3 separate regions of the Homo sapiens genome follow, and regions 1 and 3 are each linked to region 2. Evidence: promoter capture Hi-C in 16 types of primary human blood cells and fetal thymus (Javierre and others, 2016). All regions are on one chromosome and are shown on one strand. Each heading gives the region's core, a stretch centred on a gene start or on the middle of the fragment in contact. The rest is flanking DNA. Distances are from core to core; before and after follow the strand shown. Region 1 overlaps BPTF (bromodomain PHD finger transcription factor). Region 2 holds the start of SLC16A6 (solute carrier family 16 member 6). Region 3 overlaps BPTF (bromodomain PHD finger transcription factor).

Region 1 (4,805 bases), core at 614-3,113, 330 kb before region 2:
CTTGAGGTCAGGAGTTCGAGACCAGCCTGGCCAACATGGTGAAACCCCATCTCTACCAAAAATACAAAAATTAGCTGAGTTTGGTGGCACGTGCCTGTGGTCCTAGCTAGGTACTTGGGAGGCTGAGGTGGGAGGATCACTTGAGCCTGGGAGGTGAAGGGTACAGTGAGCCAAGACTGTGCCACTGCACTCTAGCCTGGGTGACAGAGTGAGACCCACTCTCAAAAAGAAAAAACAGAGTACAGTAAAGAAGCTGGCCAAAACCAAGATGGCGATGAAAGTGACCTCTGGTTGTCCTCACTGCTCATTAAAACTTTTTAAAAAATATATGAAAAGGGGCCAGGCAGTGTGGCTCACACCTGTAATCCCAGGACTTTGGAAGTCTAAGGTGGGTGGATTGCCTGAGGTCAGGAGTTCAACACCAGCCTAGCCAACATAATGAAACTCTGTCCCTACTAAAAATACAAAAAATTAGCTGGGTATGGTGGTGGGTGCCTGTAATCCTAGCTAGTTGGGAGGCTGAGGCAGGAGAATCACTTGAACCCAGGAGGTGGGGAGGTTGGAGTGCGCTGAGATTGTGCCACTGCACTCCAGCCTAGGCAACAAAGCACTTTGGGAGGCCGAGGCGGGTGGATCACCTGAGGTCAGGAGTTTGCAACCAGCCTGGCCAACATGGCGAAACCCCGTTTCTACTAAAAATACAAAAAAATTAGCTGGGTGTGGTGTTGCACGCCTGTAATCCCAGCTACTTGGGAGGCTGAGGCAGGAGAATTGCCTGAACCCAGGAGACATAAGTTGCAGTGAGCTGAGATTGCACCATTGACAAGAGCGAAACTGCATCTCAAAAAATATATATATGAAAAGAAAGTTATCTTTTAAAAAAAGAAAATAGTGCGTTATGTTGCACTACTCTCCCTGCAGTCTGAAATTCTAGACATAGGAGCATCATAATAAATAAGGCAAATCTGCCTCTTTTCTGCTTTATGCTGGTCAGACCACATTTTGAGTCTCAAGGCCAGTTCATGTCCAGTCTCACTGTAAGGACAGAGAGCAAGAGCAACTAGAAGAAAGCAGCCAGTGAGAGAGGATGCTTGAAATCACCTTCTGAGCAACCACAGAAAGAGCCCAGATGGGACAGGGGCAAGCCAGGAGGGACGCTCTTCCTAGCCACTTGGCTCATCTTTCAGTCAGCTCTCCTTTGAAGATAACTAGCAGCTTTCTAGTTGTTCTTACCTAGTCTTCATTTTGTTTCTAGTTGTCTTAGTTGGGTTTAAGATATAAGAAAACTCTTGTTTGCAACTAACTAAAACTCTCACGTTAGGCTGAACTGTGGAGCTACTTTGACAAGAGTGGGTAGTGTACCATCTTCTGGCCAGATCACACATTTACATGACTCTAATGATAGTCTTGTATTGTCTTTAATTGATAACAGGAAGAGCTGAAGAGAGACCTGAAAATTAAGAAAGAAAAAGACCTGATGCAGTTGGCTCAGGCCACAGCAGTAGCTGCACCCTGCCCCCCAGTGACACCAGCTCCTCCAGCCCCTCCAGCCCCTCCACCTTCACCTCCCCCTCCACCTGCTGTGCAACACACAGGCCTTCTGTCCACGCCCACCTTACCTGCTGCTTCCCAGAAGAGGAAGCGGGAAGAGGAAAAAGACTCCAGCTCAAAGTCCAAGAAAAAGAAAATGATCTCTACTACCTCAAAGGAAACTAAGAAGGACACAAAGCTTTACTGTATCTGTAAAACGCCTTATGATGAATCTAAGTGAGTAGATCTTTTTGAGCTCTAGTTTTTTGTCTTGAAAGTTTAGCTATTAAATTGGATTTTGAAGAAAATGAATATTTTGGGAGTGATATAAATGAAAATATTAAATTTAAGAGTAATGTTTCATCCATGGTCTTGCATGTGATATTCTTACCATTGACGCTAGTAAAGTAAAATTTGCTATTTCACGTGTTTGTGATTGTCCTTTGTTATATTCTTTTCTGTCAAAAACAAGCTTTCTGTTGCTCCTTTGCTTTCTCTTCTTCCCTCTGAATTAACTCCAAATCAGTGAGTAATTGATGTCTGGAGAAGGAGGTGTATTACTGTTGCCCAAAATGGAGAGCATCCTTTCTGGGATCTGTTCAAAGCCCTGCGAATACATGAAATCCTGGAAACCAGTTGAACATGAATGGTCAGAGGTTTTGAATTTGAGTGGTTCGGTTTCTTAATTGTTTTATTTTAAGCAGTTGTTTTTTTTTGTATTAAAATACTGCAACTCATATTTTTGTCAAAGTTTCCACTTTCTTATCAGAGACAAAAGCCAGAAAAATACAAAAAGTGTTCCTTTCCCCCATTCCTCAAGCATAACGTCCAACAGTTTGGCAGCTGGAAGCTGTTTTTGACAGTTGTGACTTGTATTTGGTGATATAAACAAGATTATAGAGGCACTAAACCGTAAATGTAGTTTCATTTTTTTGGTCATTACTATCATTTTACAAAATATTTAACTTCTACTTTGAACATTAAAATGTAGTCCAGCTTTTTAAAGCCACAGTTAACCACCATACTTTTTACAGGACCAAAAAGTCTGATTGTGCTTTAAAAACTGATCATTTAGAATCAATTAATTAGAATTAGGAATGCTTAATGCCTACCTTAAGTGGATACCTAATTGATTCCTAAAATAAAATTGTGGTCCCTTTAATGATGTTCAAGTTGCAACATTGAAGCTGCTTTGGTGGTGCTATCTAAATGATAATCTGTTTGCAAATGCCAAATGAAAACTCTTTGTTGGCAGATTGAGCTGTGTGCTGAATTAAACAGAAATCAATTTAGGCATCTTCACTTTTCATTATCTTATCTCATTGGAAATTATACATAATGTAAACAGTAGAACGTGATTCACTGATTTTTTTTTACTTTAGTTTAATACAAGTGTGCCTCACTTTAAGCAAAATATACTAAATGATTTCTGAAACAGGAGTTTCCTTACTTTTTCAGTTAAAAAGATTTGTTTACAGAATTTCTTTAAATAACAAGGCTTCTTTGGCCTGTTTAGAGTATTCAGATCACAGAAATTGATTTCACACACAACTTCTTTGAAATACCTACATTGCATAAAATGAGGCACACAGATACATGTGCCCATTCCATCGAGATTGCCTCATTATTTTGTGTTATTTTATATTTTTCATTTTGTCATTATTAACACTTTAGTATACCAGGTTCATTCACTCCCTATTTTAGTTGAGATGAGTTAGTGTTTCTAAGGAGTGTTTCGTAATCTCTTGTCCCAAACTAGGCTGGTTTGGGAATCCAGTGAGAGTGACTGAAAACTGAAATTCAAGTCCTGAACATCCTTCCAGAACACAGCCTATCACCCTGTGGAGATAACACACAAACTATCTCAGAGGACCCCCACCTGTGGCAGTGAAAATCATGTGAGAGTCATAGTTCAAAAGAAAAAAGTGCTGGGCACCGTGGCTCATACCTGTAATCTCAGCACTTTGGGAGGCCGAAGTGGGAGGATCACTTGAGCCCAGGTGTTTGAGACCAGTCTGGGCAACATAGAGAGACCCCGTCTGTACAAAAAATTGGCCAGGCGTGGTGGCTAATGCCTGTAATCCCAACACTTTGGGAGGCCGAGGTGGACGGATCACCTGAGGTCAGGAGTTCGAGATCAGCCTGGCCAACATGGCAAAACCCTGTCTCTACTAAAAATGCAAAAATTAGCCAGATGTGGTGGCACACACCTGTAATCCCAGCTACTCGGGAGGCCGAGTCAGGAGAATCGCTTGAACCCGGGAGACTGAGGTTGCAGTGAGCCGAGATCATGCCACTGTACTCCAGCCTGGGAGACAGAGCAAAGCTCTGTCAAAAAAAAAAAAGAAAAGAAAAAAAGCCGGGCCTGGTGGCGCATGCCTATAGCCCCAGCTACTCGGGAGGCTGAGGTGGGAGGATCACATGAGCCTGGGAGGTCCAGGCTGCAGGGGGCCGTGATCCTGCCCCTGCTCTGCAGCCTGGGCTATACAGCGAGACAAAAGAAAAAAAGAAAAAAGTTAGTGGTAACAGGATAAACTACATAACCATATATTATTCCTTCACATTCATGAAGCAGGTCAATTTGAAGCTTGAGGACGACTTCCATTCCTCTAGGTGAATCTGCCAAGAAATGCCTTGGTAGAACTAAGAGTGCCAATGGTATCAGCAAGGCCAGTCTGGTTCCCTGTGATTCATGGTAATTCTCACTATGACTTTGACATGGTGTTCCTACACAGTGCCTATCAACACTTATAGACACACTGTGTAAGCGTTTGTTACATTTACTTTTCCTTTTGTCATTAGGTCTTTTGTTACAGAGGCCACTCTGCTCTCCACAATCACACATTTACACAGCTCCCCCTTGCCAAGCAGTGTAGACCCTCACAGGCTTTGGATAACTATCCTTGCATCATTCTCCACACCTTGTCCCCGGTGTTGAACTGAAGCATCTCCTTCCACGTTCCCTGCCCGTTAGTTAGCCAGGCCACTGCCCACATTGTCACAAACATTATATTAACAGGAAAACTGGCCCGTGCCATATTCCATTATGAGAGGTTATTTTTAATTCGATTAAATTCCAATGTTTATTCAGAAAACCTGGTAGAGATTGAATTACTCTATGTACTTTCTTAGTTTTCTTCTTCATATCATATTTTGACCATTTATCTTCTACACCTGGCTGACCTGCATGTTCCTTGTAGTGTAACTTCTACTTGGTGTTTGCGCTTTGCTTTGTTTTCAAATTTAAATTGTGAGATACATTTTCAAACCTATCT
Region 2 (4,518 bases), core at 1,172-3,671:
GTCACTTGCTTTAATCCTTCTAAGCCCTTTGAAGGCAAGGCCGAAGAGTTGGTCTTCTTAAAGCTCTTAGGCCATATTTGTTAATTTCTGTGTACCATTAACTGGCTGCACAGTTATGGAAACCACAGAATCCTGAACTTCTAGAACTTCTATCATCTGTAAAGCATGGGTTGTCAGGGGAGTCTCTCAAGCCTTTTCCAACTTACAAAACTCGACAATTCTGAATGGGGGTTCCCGGCAGCCATCTTCCCTTCACCCTAGTGTTCTTCTGGAGGAAGTACAATGACACAATCCACGGGCAGTTTGGAGGATTTCCTAGTAGCATGTGGTTAAGTGTCCCCTTAAATAAATGAGTATTGGCCGGGTGCGGTAGCTCATGCCTATAATCCCAGCAATTAGGGAGGCCGAAGCAGGCAGATTACTTGAGCCCAGGAGTTTGAGACCAACCCGGGCAACATAGTGAGGCTGTGTCTCTACAAAAAAATTAAAAAATGAGGTGGGAGGATCGCTTGAGCCCGGGAGGTCGAGGCTGCAATGAGCAGAGATGACGCTACTGCACTCCCATGATGGGAGTGAGACCCTGCCTCTAAACAAATAAATAAGTAGGTATCTTGCCAAAGGCTTGGAAATCCGCTATCCTTGGGAGTTTCACTGTGATTTAATTTGTCGAGAGAAGATTTGGCCCGAGGGCATGAAAAAAATTGTATTATTGTAGACCATCAGAGTGTTATTCCAGGGTCAGCTAAGAGCAAGTTTCAAAACGCAGGCTCTGGATGGAAATGGGGTGGCTACTGTTGTAGGCAGACCTCGAGCAAAAGCACTGCGGATTTCTCTTCTTCTTAAAGGCGTAGCCCGGAGAACAGCTTTGACAAGTTGTTTCTGGCCCAAGTTGTCAAAACCAGTCTGTATTTGGCTAAAGTTCATCTGCATTCTCTATTTAAAAAAAATTTCCAAACCTAACCTGGATAGCTGCCTCACGATGTTGAATCACTGGCTACAACCGAGTCACCATTTTACAAGACTATGGTGTTGAAACCTGAGCCCCTAATTTAAGTGTCCTCCTCAGGAGTTCCACTGAGGAAAGTCCTTTTTCGGAAACCACAGAAGGAAAACTCAGGGTTAGTGGTACTCATTACACTGGAAGGAGCTTTTCCACTTGGCTGCATTGTTTATTTACACACTGTAAGTTCCTATTTTGGACACTCTTCCCTTAATTATGAGAAGAGGGGTTTCTATTATATCATCTGGCCGGATGTATTGTTGACCCCAAAAATGCCACATAACGGTGCTTGGGACATGGGGAGATGCATGGTTTAGAGATTTCAGCATAAGCACTTGGCATCTTTTTTACAAGCAAGACACCTATCTTACCATGATTTGCAAAAACAATCAGATCACTGAGAAATCTCATTCCCGGGGTAGAAACCATCTCCTGCGAGAAGGAGCTGGCACGGAGTGTCTAACCGTGCAAACAAAACCGGCTTCCAGGTTGACAAGTTGTAATTGCTCTTCCCCAGTTGGCTCCGGGGAGCTTTTTCTAAGACTGACGCCCCCCATGTTTGGTGACATTTTATATACGCCACCTAACAAACTTCTATGACCTGTCTTGCTAGGGTGGGGGGAATAAAAAGAAAAGACGACAACAACCTAGAAGGAAATAACCCATTTCCTCTGCAAAACCATCTTCCCTTGCTACGGAACTGCTTGGCGACACCAGCGCTTTCCTGCGGTTGGCAGCCCGGGAACCTTGAAGTTGCGCGGGACCGGCCGTCAGCCGCTGACAGTTCTGACAGTCCAGGTGGAGGACCCGCGCTCTGCCGGGAAATCCCCGGCTTCCCGCTGGGGACAAACGGTGGCCGCCGCAGGGAGTGCTGTGTTTGGGGGTCGGGGGAGGCAGGGAGCCCCACTTTCCCTCGCGCTGCCTCAGTGCCCGGCCTGCGTGCGCGCGCCAGCCTGGGGTAGGAAGGTACCTCTGACATTTCGCTCCTGCGACGCGCAGGCAACTTCATGCGGAAAATCCGCGGAGGGGCTGAGCCTGGAGCCCCCGACTCTTCCGACGTCCCGGAGCCCCCAACCCGGGGCAGGGGGCACTCAAAGGCCAGGCGTGCCTTTAGGTATCTTCCGGGACCCAACTGTACCAGGGTCACGGACATTCAACTCTCAGCTACCCACACCGGCGCGAGCGCGTCATCCCGGTGGCCCTGGGCATTCCTAACTGTCAGAGCGAATATTTTTGGGAATAACCTCTCCAAAATGTGAAGATGTTCAGTGGTCTCCTCCGCCTCCCATCACAAAAAAAGGCCCCAACACATATTTTTTAAAAAACAACCCACATCCCACAATCAAACTTTTAAACATGTAAAATAATAAACCAACTCACCAAGTTAGAAGGGAAGAGAATAAACCCCCAAAGGCTCCCAATAAGGCGGAGGCTTGGCCTCCCCCTCCTTATAAGCCGCTCGGTAACATGAGAAAAGGATTAACCCCTTAGGGGGCGGGCCCGACTCTAGCGCAAGTTGGCTCGGGCTGGTGAGGCCCGAGCGCCCGGGCCCTCCACCCACTCCCGCGACTCGGGCACCCGAGCCACACCCTCCCCCCGCCCCCCACCCCGGCCGCCTGCGACCCGGGCCGTGCGTGCTGCCGCCCGCGCCCCGGCCCCGCGTCGCTGCCTAGCTCTTATCCTATACCGGCTGCAGCCGGTCTCCGCCGGCCTCGGGGGCGCGCCGCCGCCGACCATGTGCTGCGAGCGCTGAGCGCAGCCAAGGAGGGGGCCTGCCTGGCGCGCGCGCGCCGTCCCACGTGGACCTGAGCCGCGCCGGTCGCGCGCCCGCCAGCCTGCCGCCTGGGCTGGGGGTCACGAAAGGTAACCGCGTCGCGGTCCGGGGCCGGGCCGCCCCCGCCAGCGCCGCCGGGGTCCTTGGCACAACGCCCCGATCTCCCAACCCGGGTGCGCCTCTGCGCGCGTGACCCGCCCAGACCCCGGAGCTTTGCTGCAACGCTAGTAGGAGCGCGAGCGTGCAGGGTGTTGGGGGTGCCTGCATCCTGTCTCGGAGCACCTCGGCCAGGCGCGAGCGCGCGGGTCCCCGTCCCCACCCCCGGGCGCCTTCCCGGCGCGCCCACCGCCCAGTCCCGCCCGCGCCCTGAGGATTTAGGGATTTAGCGGCGAGGGGGAACACGCGCGCGCCGGGGCTGATCCCGCGCGGCGCTCGCGGCTGCGGCGGCTTCGCGCCCGCCCCGGGCAGAACAGGTTCCTTCCAGTTTGGGTGTGAGCTGCGCGCGCGGCGCCTGAGTTCCTCCTGCAGCGCCCACTTCCCCCAGTTTCGTCAACTCGCGCACCCCCACAGTTCCCCTTCCGGCAGTGGGGAGGGAGTGTCGCAGTGGGCCCCAGGGAGCGAGCGGCCGGGCCGCTGCGGGTGCCTTGCTTCCCCCACTTTGCTGCACCGGCAGCAGCGGCAGCAACAGCATCCGCGTTGCGCGAAAGGAATGTGAGCAGCCGGGCTGAGTCAGCATCCCCGGCCCGGGGCGCGCGCGCACCCTCCAGGCAGTGGCGGCGTCGGCACAGGTGCATGGCTCCCATACCCGCGGGGAGCCCTCTGTAAGGGACCTGGAGGTTTAGACAGTCCGTGCCCCTCATCCCGTAGTCCCCGACCCCAAGGTCACCGTGAACTAAGCGGATGATGCACGCGAAATCTCAGGAGCTCCTCATGGGGACAAAGCATGTGTCAGATCCTAGACATTTCAGAGCCTGCGGGGGCGCAAACTTAGCTTCTTGGTCTCTACCTCACATCCCGAGGGCAAATTTGGAAACTGCTCGGAAGCAAAGGCCATGTTATTTGCATTCGTATGCAGACTTTGGCGCCGGCTGCTGCCTTCATTGGGGTTCGGAGAATGTGGTTCTGATGTCAGAAACTCAAGAGAGCCTAGTTTGGGAGTGCATGCACGGAGGGTCGCCACCGGGAGGAGTCGGCGATCTGAATTTTAATAAAAATCCTTCCTTGCTCGCTGAGTTCTCTCACCATTTTGGGATAGGCTCTCCTGAGTTAAATGCCATCCTTTGCCGTTGACAAGTTCTGGTTGTGTAAGTGGGGAGAAGATTCGTTGGTACAGGGTGCCTTGTATGGCCAGTAGTGTACAGCCAAGGGGCCGCTGAGCAGCTTTGCAACCTTGTAGGCGTAATTTAACCTCGTAGAGCGTTAATTTCTCCAGATCTGTAAAATGGGGATGGAGGTGGTATTCCCAGAATTGGAGGGTTTAATTTATGGTACTTGTAAAGTGCGGATCGCAGTGACTGGCATTTGGTAAGGCCTCAGTACCCATTAGCTCTTGCTGCTGTTACGATTTATGCTTTACCAAGGCCAATTAATTGCTGACTCCAACACACTCCCTGTGAGAGAGAGCCCTTTTTTGAGTTGTTCTTCAAAGGATCCATATATAATGATATTTAGAAACTGATTTGAACACTTCATGCTAATGCAGGGCTGCCTGTAAGATAATCTTTGATATTTAGGATCTTACACT
Region 3 (4,921 bases), core at 2,317-4,816, 310 kb before region 2:
TAATATAATTTTTTAATGTTAAAGATGTATCGTGGTAAAAAATTTACTCTAGCAGCCATGTTGAACAATGTATTTAAAAATTGTAAACTCTTGGAATACTGTATTTATCTGCTATTTCAATATAAAGTCCTTTGACTTAGTCCTGGTAACTGTACAGTAATTTGGTTTACTAATGAAAGTTGTGAATAAAACTGTGAAACTAGAAGGGAGACTTTCTGGACTTTAATAGAAAAATGTGATTTTAAGATTGCTTTTTCTTTTGTTTTAGCGTAATTTTTCCCTTTATATTCCCCTCATCAATGTAAATAAACACACACACACACACACACACACACACACACACACACCTTTCACCACAATGGTAATGCTTCTGTAAATGCCTCTATTTGTCCAGTTGGCTGAAAATGTTGTAATCTTTATTAGACAAATATATATATATATATATATATATATATATATATATATATTTAAATATTGGCTTTTTCCAGTGAGCTATTATGTTTAGTGTACAGTGAAAAGTTTTAATATTATAGGTTAAAATTTTCTTAATCGTTCTTTTCTATTCGCTTGCCAAGGGTGAATGAAAGAACATGGCTGCTTCTCCCAGACTGACTGACCTTGGCATCCGCATAAAGCATCATTGTTTTCAAAAATGAAGGGTGCTTAATTGTTCCCTTTTTTCTATATTCTGTAGGTCTCATAACAACAAACTGCAGTCTACAGCTTCTTAAAGTTCAGCGTGTTAACCTAACATAAAACACAGCAAGAATCTGGTTGTCTGAACTATTTTAAATTAAGGAGCCAGATGTTTTTAGTCAGGCTATCCTGACAAGACTTGACCTAAACTTCGTTTTTATTGGTCATAACAGTCCAATTATATTCTTGGCCAATTTTGTCCAACGGACAAGAAAAAAGCAAAGTCAACGACACCATTATCTTGTCAAGATCAGATGGTTTTACTATTGTGGCAGAAGCGAGAAAACTTTGTTTATTGAAAAAAAAAGAAAAAGAAAGCAAGAAAAAAAGATACTATGGGGTCAAGTGTAACTCCATGGAAATGCCACGTCTGCTCTTCAGTGAAGAAGCTGGTTTAGAGTCTCACAGAAAACTTTTGACTGTATTTATTTATTGTTGCAAAAAAGACGCTTTTTTATTGCTGCCCTCATTTGTCAGCTAATTATTTTTTCTTATAAAATCCAGCCCCGGTTACATATAATCATCTGTATCTTATCATGATTCCTGTAGGTAAAAGTACAAGACGACCTCTAGATGTCTTTTCTTTCTATGAAAGGAGCTGCTATGTACACATGTGCACACACACACAACTGGGAATCAACAATGAGTTTATTGTTCATGGTAGATTAAAATTAAGCTTGCATAAAGGTTGGGCTAAGTGGTCCTGGACTACAGACTCTGTTGCCTTGAATATAACAGTACAATTTGTCAATTACTCTGCACCAGGCTAAAATGAGTAAAATCTATTTGAAGGTATCTTGTTTGTAAACATTTGTCAGATTCTAATTTTTTTCTTTTGTATTAAAATTCAACTATGGATGTATATGAAACAAAATAAATGGAGATAATTTTTCTCCCACAGACAGAGGTGTCTTTGAATGTGCGCTAATGATTATCTGTAAGCCTTTGTGGGGAGGGAGGCCTGCAAGGTCATGAAAGGCAGAAGAGTCTAATTGTGCCTGGATTTCTCCAGGACAGCAGTGGCCCCTCGTTTTATCATTCCCAGTCCATTGTCATCACGTCAGAGAAAAATCTTCAGGGGTGCTAATCCTGTTGCATCAGTTGATCATACTAACGAGAACGGTAATGCGACAAGATACACATTGCCTTCATCTGTACATTCTGTGATACCAGGCAAATTACCAATTACACACAGCTACTTATATTTTATGAAGGGCATTTTTTAGATGACCTCATCCTCTGTGTTATTTGTTGATTGGGTTTGTTTTCTGTTTGTTGGTTTGTTTGTTTCTTCCACGTAAGGAAAAGTAGTGTAAACAGTAGCGAGAAAATGGAAACCACAGAGGAAGATGTATTTTGCATGTTTTTCCTTTCAGTGTTCTTACACGTTGTATCACTGCATTGTGGTAATAGCTTCTATAAAATCTGCCATAGTTGGATTATGCAGCTTTGCAAAAATTTTTACTAGATTTTGCACTAACTCATATTAGCTTTGTCCTACCAACTTCTGGAATTTATCTAATTATTGTTTTTCAAAGTTTCTTTCCTTTTAATGTTTCCCTGCTATGCAAAACCTTTCCCAGACCTCAGTTTCTTAAAAGAAAGATGTTGCTACAGTTCCCGATTCTTTCTTATTACAGGCTCAGGTGTACAGGTTATTCTGGGTTAATTTTATCTAATGAAGCCCATTCCTTTTTGTACATAAAGATGTCACTTAAACTTATGCTTACAAACTAAAGACTAATCGCTCAATATGAAAACATGAAAAAATTTTTGCTTAAAGTATTAAGATGGAAGTAGTTAAATATGGGTTATTTTGTCCTTTTACTTTTTTAAAAAATGTTACATATTGTATGCACTGTGCTGATGCAAGAATTCTACATTTTAATGAGTTATAAAATTATTCTGCATCTCATCACGTCACAGTATTTCTGTACTATTTATTCATATATATAAATATATATGGGCTTAATCATTTAAAATTTGTTGCAGCAAGAACTTTCCTACCTGTAGGCAATAGATTGCTATGTTTTTAACAAATTGTGGCAAATTCTAAACAGCAATTCTTTTGTACGTAATAGGACATTTCATCCTAGAAAAATAAAGTAATGTTTTTGACATTGGATTTGGTGCAGTTTCTAATGAAGCAATGGTTGGTTGGTTAATATGTTTTCTATAGCTGTTAGCCTTGCCAAATTGTACAAAAAGGATAAATTTTATGGAAATCTGAAACCAGGAAGATGTTAATTTCATATGTGTATTTAACGGTATAAAGTGTTGTATAGTTTCTATCACCATACAAATACATAGACATTTTATAGTTTCATCAACTACAGAGCTTTAGTCCTTCAGAAGTAATTTTTGAAAAACATACTTCTTTTTTTTTTTTTTTGAGATGGAGTTTCACTGTTGTTGCCCAGTCTGGAGTGCAATGATGCCATCTCGGCTCACCACAACCTCTGCCTCCCGGGTTCAAGCAATTCTCCTGCCTCAGCCTCCCAAGTAACTGGGATTACAGGCATGCGCCACCACGCCTGGCTAATTTTGTATTTTTAGTAGAGACAGGGTTTCTCCATGTTGGTCAGGCTGGTCTCGAACTCCCGATCCCAGGTGATCCGCCTGCCTCGGCCTCCCAAAGTGCTGGGATTATAGACATGAGCCACCACGCCTGGCCTGAAAACCATACATTCTTATAGAACATAATGAATTCCAAAAGCTGCTTTTCTGTGACAAGCAGAAATCTTTGACAAGCTTCTGCTATTCAGAAAGATCTACATAATACAGCTATTTTGCTTCCAATAATTCAGGCAGTAAACTGTACATTTGTGATATTCTTAGGATGTTTCTACCCCAGGCCTTGGGCTTATAAATACATTTAATTTGCATCAATAGATTTCCTTGGCTAAAAGTATTTTCAGTACCTGTTATACTTTACCTGCCAAGTTCACAATCCTTGAAACCATTTCATGAAAAGTATTTTCCTATTGGTAAAGCTTTTATTCTCCTATCCAAATTCTGCAGGAGGTTTAAATAAAATTGTGGCTGGGCATGGTGGCTCACGCCTATAATCCCAGCACTTTGGGAGACTGAAGCAAGTGGGTCACTTGAGGTCAGGAGTTGGAGAGACCTGCCTGGCCAACATGGTGAAACCCTGTCTCTACTAAAAATACAACAATTTAGCTGGACAAGAGGCACACGCCGGTAGTTCCAGCTACTCAGGAGGCTGAGGTGGGAGGACAGCTTGAACCCGGGAGGCAGAGGTTGCAGTGAGCTGAGATTGTGCCACTACGCTCCAGCCTGGGTGACAGAGCGAGACTCCGTCTCAAAAAAAGTGAGCTTTTGGAGATATTTTCTGAAGGAAAATAATTACCTTTTTATATTTCAAATGGCCTAGAGTGTTATTTAGAGACACTAAGATTTGCTGTTGTTTGTAATCTACCTTCCTAGGATCTGCAAATAAAAGTTACTTCCCTATTTCTGTTAATTCCTTTAGGCAAACTCTCTGCTGCTTTATGTTAAAGAGCCAACCTGGTGGCCTTTCAGATCTCTGCACACTTAGACAAAGCTACATGGTTATTACAGCTTTCGCTCTTCATGATTGAAGCTATTACCGTAGGTCTCAGACTTCTTGTCCTTAATGTGAGAATGGTGATATTTCATGGATAAAGTAATGAAGTACTTGAGGAGGTGGGGGTAAGAACCAGCTGAGAAGTATTTTTAATAATTTGAAACATTCTGAGGTACTTCTGGATACTTGGAGCGAGATACTAGAAGATTTTCTCAGAAGATCATACCGCTTGATCCAATTTGAACCAAATTCAACTAAAGAAATTAGCTATATTTTCAACTAAAATTAGCTATATTTTTAAAATGTTAATGTCCTGCTTTATCTAATTTATTTATTGCTTGCTCAAATATTTCCTGAAATTGAGGTGATGCATTATAGGTGGCAGGTCAGTTTTTATGAGTTTGTTTCTATGTGTGAATGGTCAGCCTTAAAAATGATTTTATCCGGGCGCGGTGGCTTATGCCTGTGATCCCAGCACTTTGGGAGGCCGAGGCGGGCGGATCACCTGAGGTCAGGAGTCCGAGACCAGCCTGGCCAACATGGTGAAAACCCGTCTCTACTAAAAATACAAAAATTAGCAGGCTGTGGTGGCACATGCCTGTAATCCCACTACTCGGGAGGCTGAGGCAGGAAAATTGCTTGAGCCCGGGAGGCGGA

The links. The method cuts DNA at HindIII sites, captures the fragments that hold promoters and counts their contacts. A CHiCAGO score of 5 or more calls a contact.
Region 1: a contact is called between a fragment that was not itself captured here and the fragment with the promoter of SLC16A6 in region 2, in 3 of 17 cell types (naive CD4 T cells, naive B cells and total CD4 T cells). The highest score is 6.6, in naive CD4 T cells.
Region 3: a fragment that was not itself captured here is called in contact with the fragment with the promoter of SLC16A6 in region 2 in 1 of 17 cell types (activated CD4 T cells); the score reaches 5.0 in activated CD4 T cells.

Annotation. Positions count from the first base shown.
Region 1 is chr17:67,958,109-67,962,913 of GRCh38, forward strand. BPTF (bromodomain PHD finger transcription factor) reads left to right here. Exons shown (of 28, transcript NM_182641.4): 24 at 1,433-1,767. Among named protein-coding and RNA genes, the nearest start is that of C17orf58, 36 kb to the right of the region's middle. The HindIII fragment of the contact is 273 bases long and covers 1,728-2,000 here.
Region 2 is chr17:68,288,706-68,293,223 of GRCh38, forward strand. SLC16A6 (solute carrier family 16 member 6) reads right to left here and starts at 2,422. Exons shown (of 6, transcript NM_004694.5): 1 at 2,381-2,422. ARSG (arylsulfatase G) reads left to right here and starts at 2,790. Exons shown (of 12, transcript NM_001267727.2): 1 at 2,790-2,863. RefSeq lists silencers at 2,558-3,247, 2,614-2,788 and an enhancer at 3,648-3,877. The HindIII fragment of the contact is 8,812 bases long and covers 1-4,518 here.
Region 3 is chr17:67,981,558-67,986,478 of GRCh38, forward strand. It overlaps BPTF (bromodomain PHD finger transcription factor), which reads left to right. Exons shown (of 28, transcript NM_182641.4): 28 at 695-2,821. The coding sequence ends at 731. Among named protein-coding and RNA genes, the nearest start is that of C17orf58, 12 kb to the right of the region's middle. The HindIII fragment of the contact is 242 bases long and covers 3,446-3,687 here.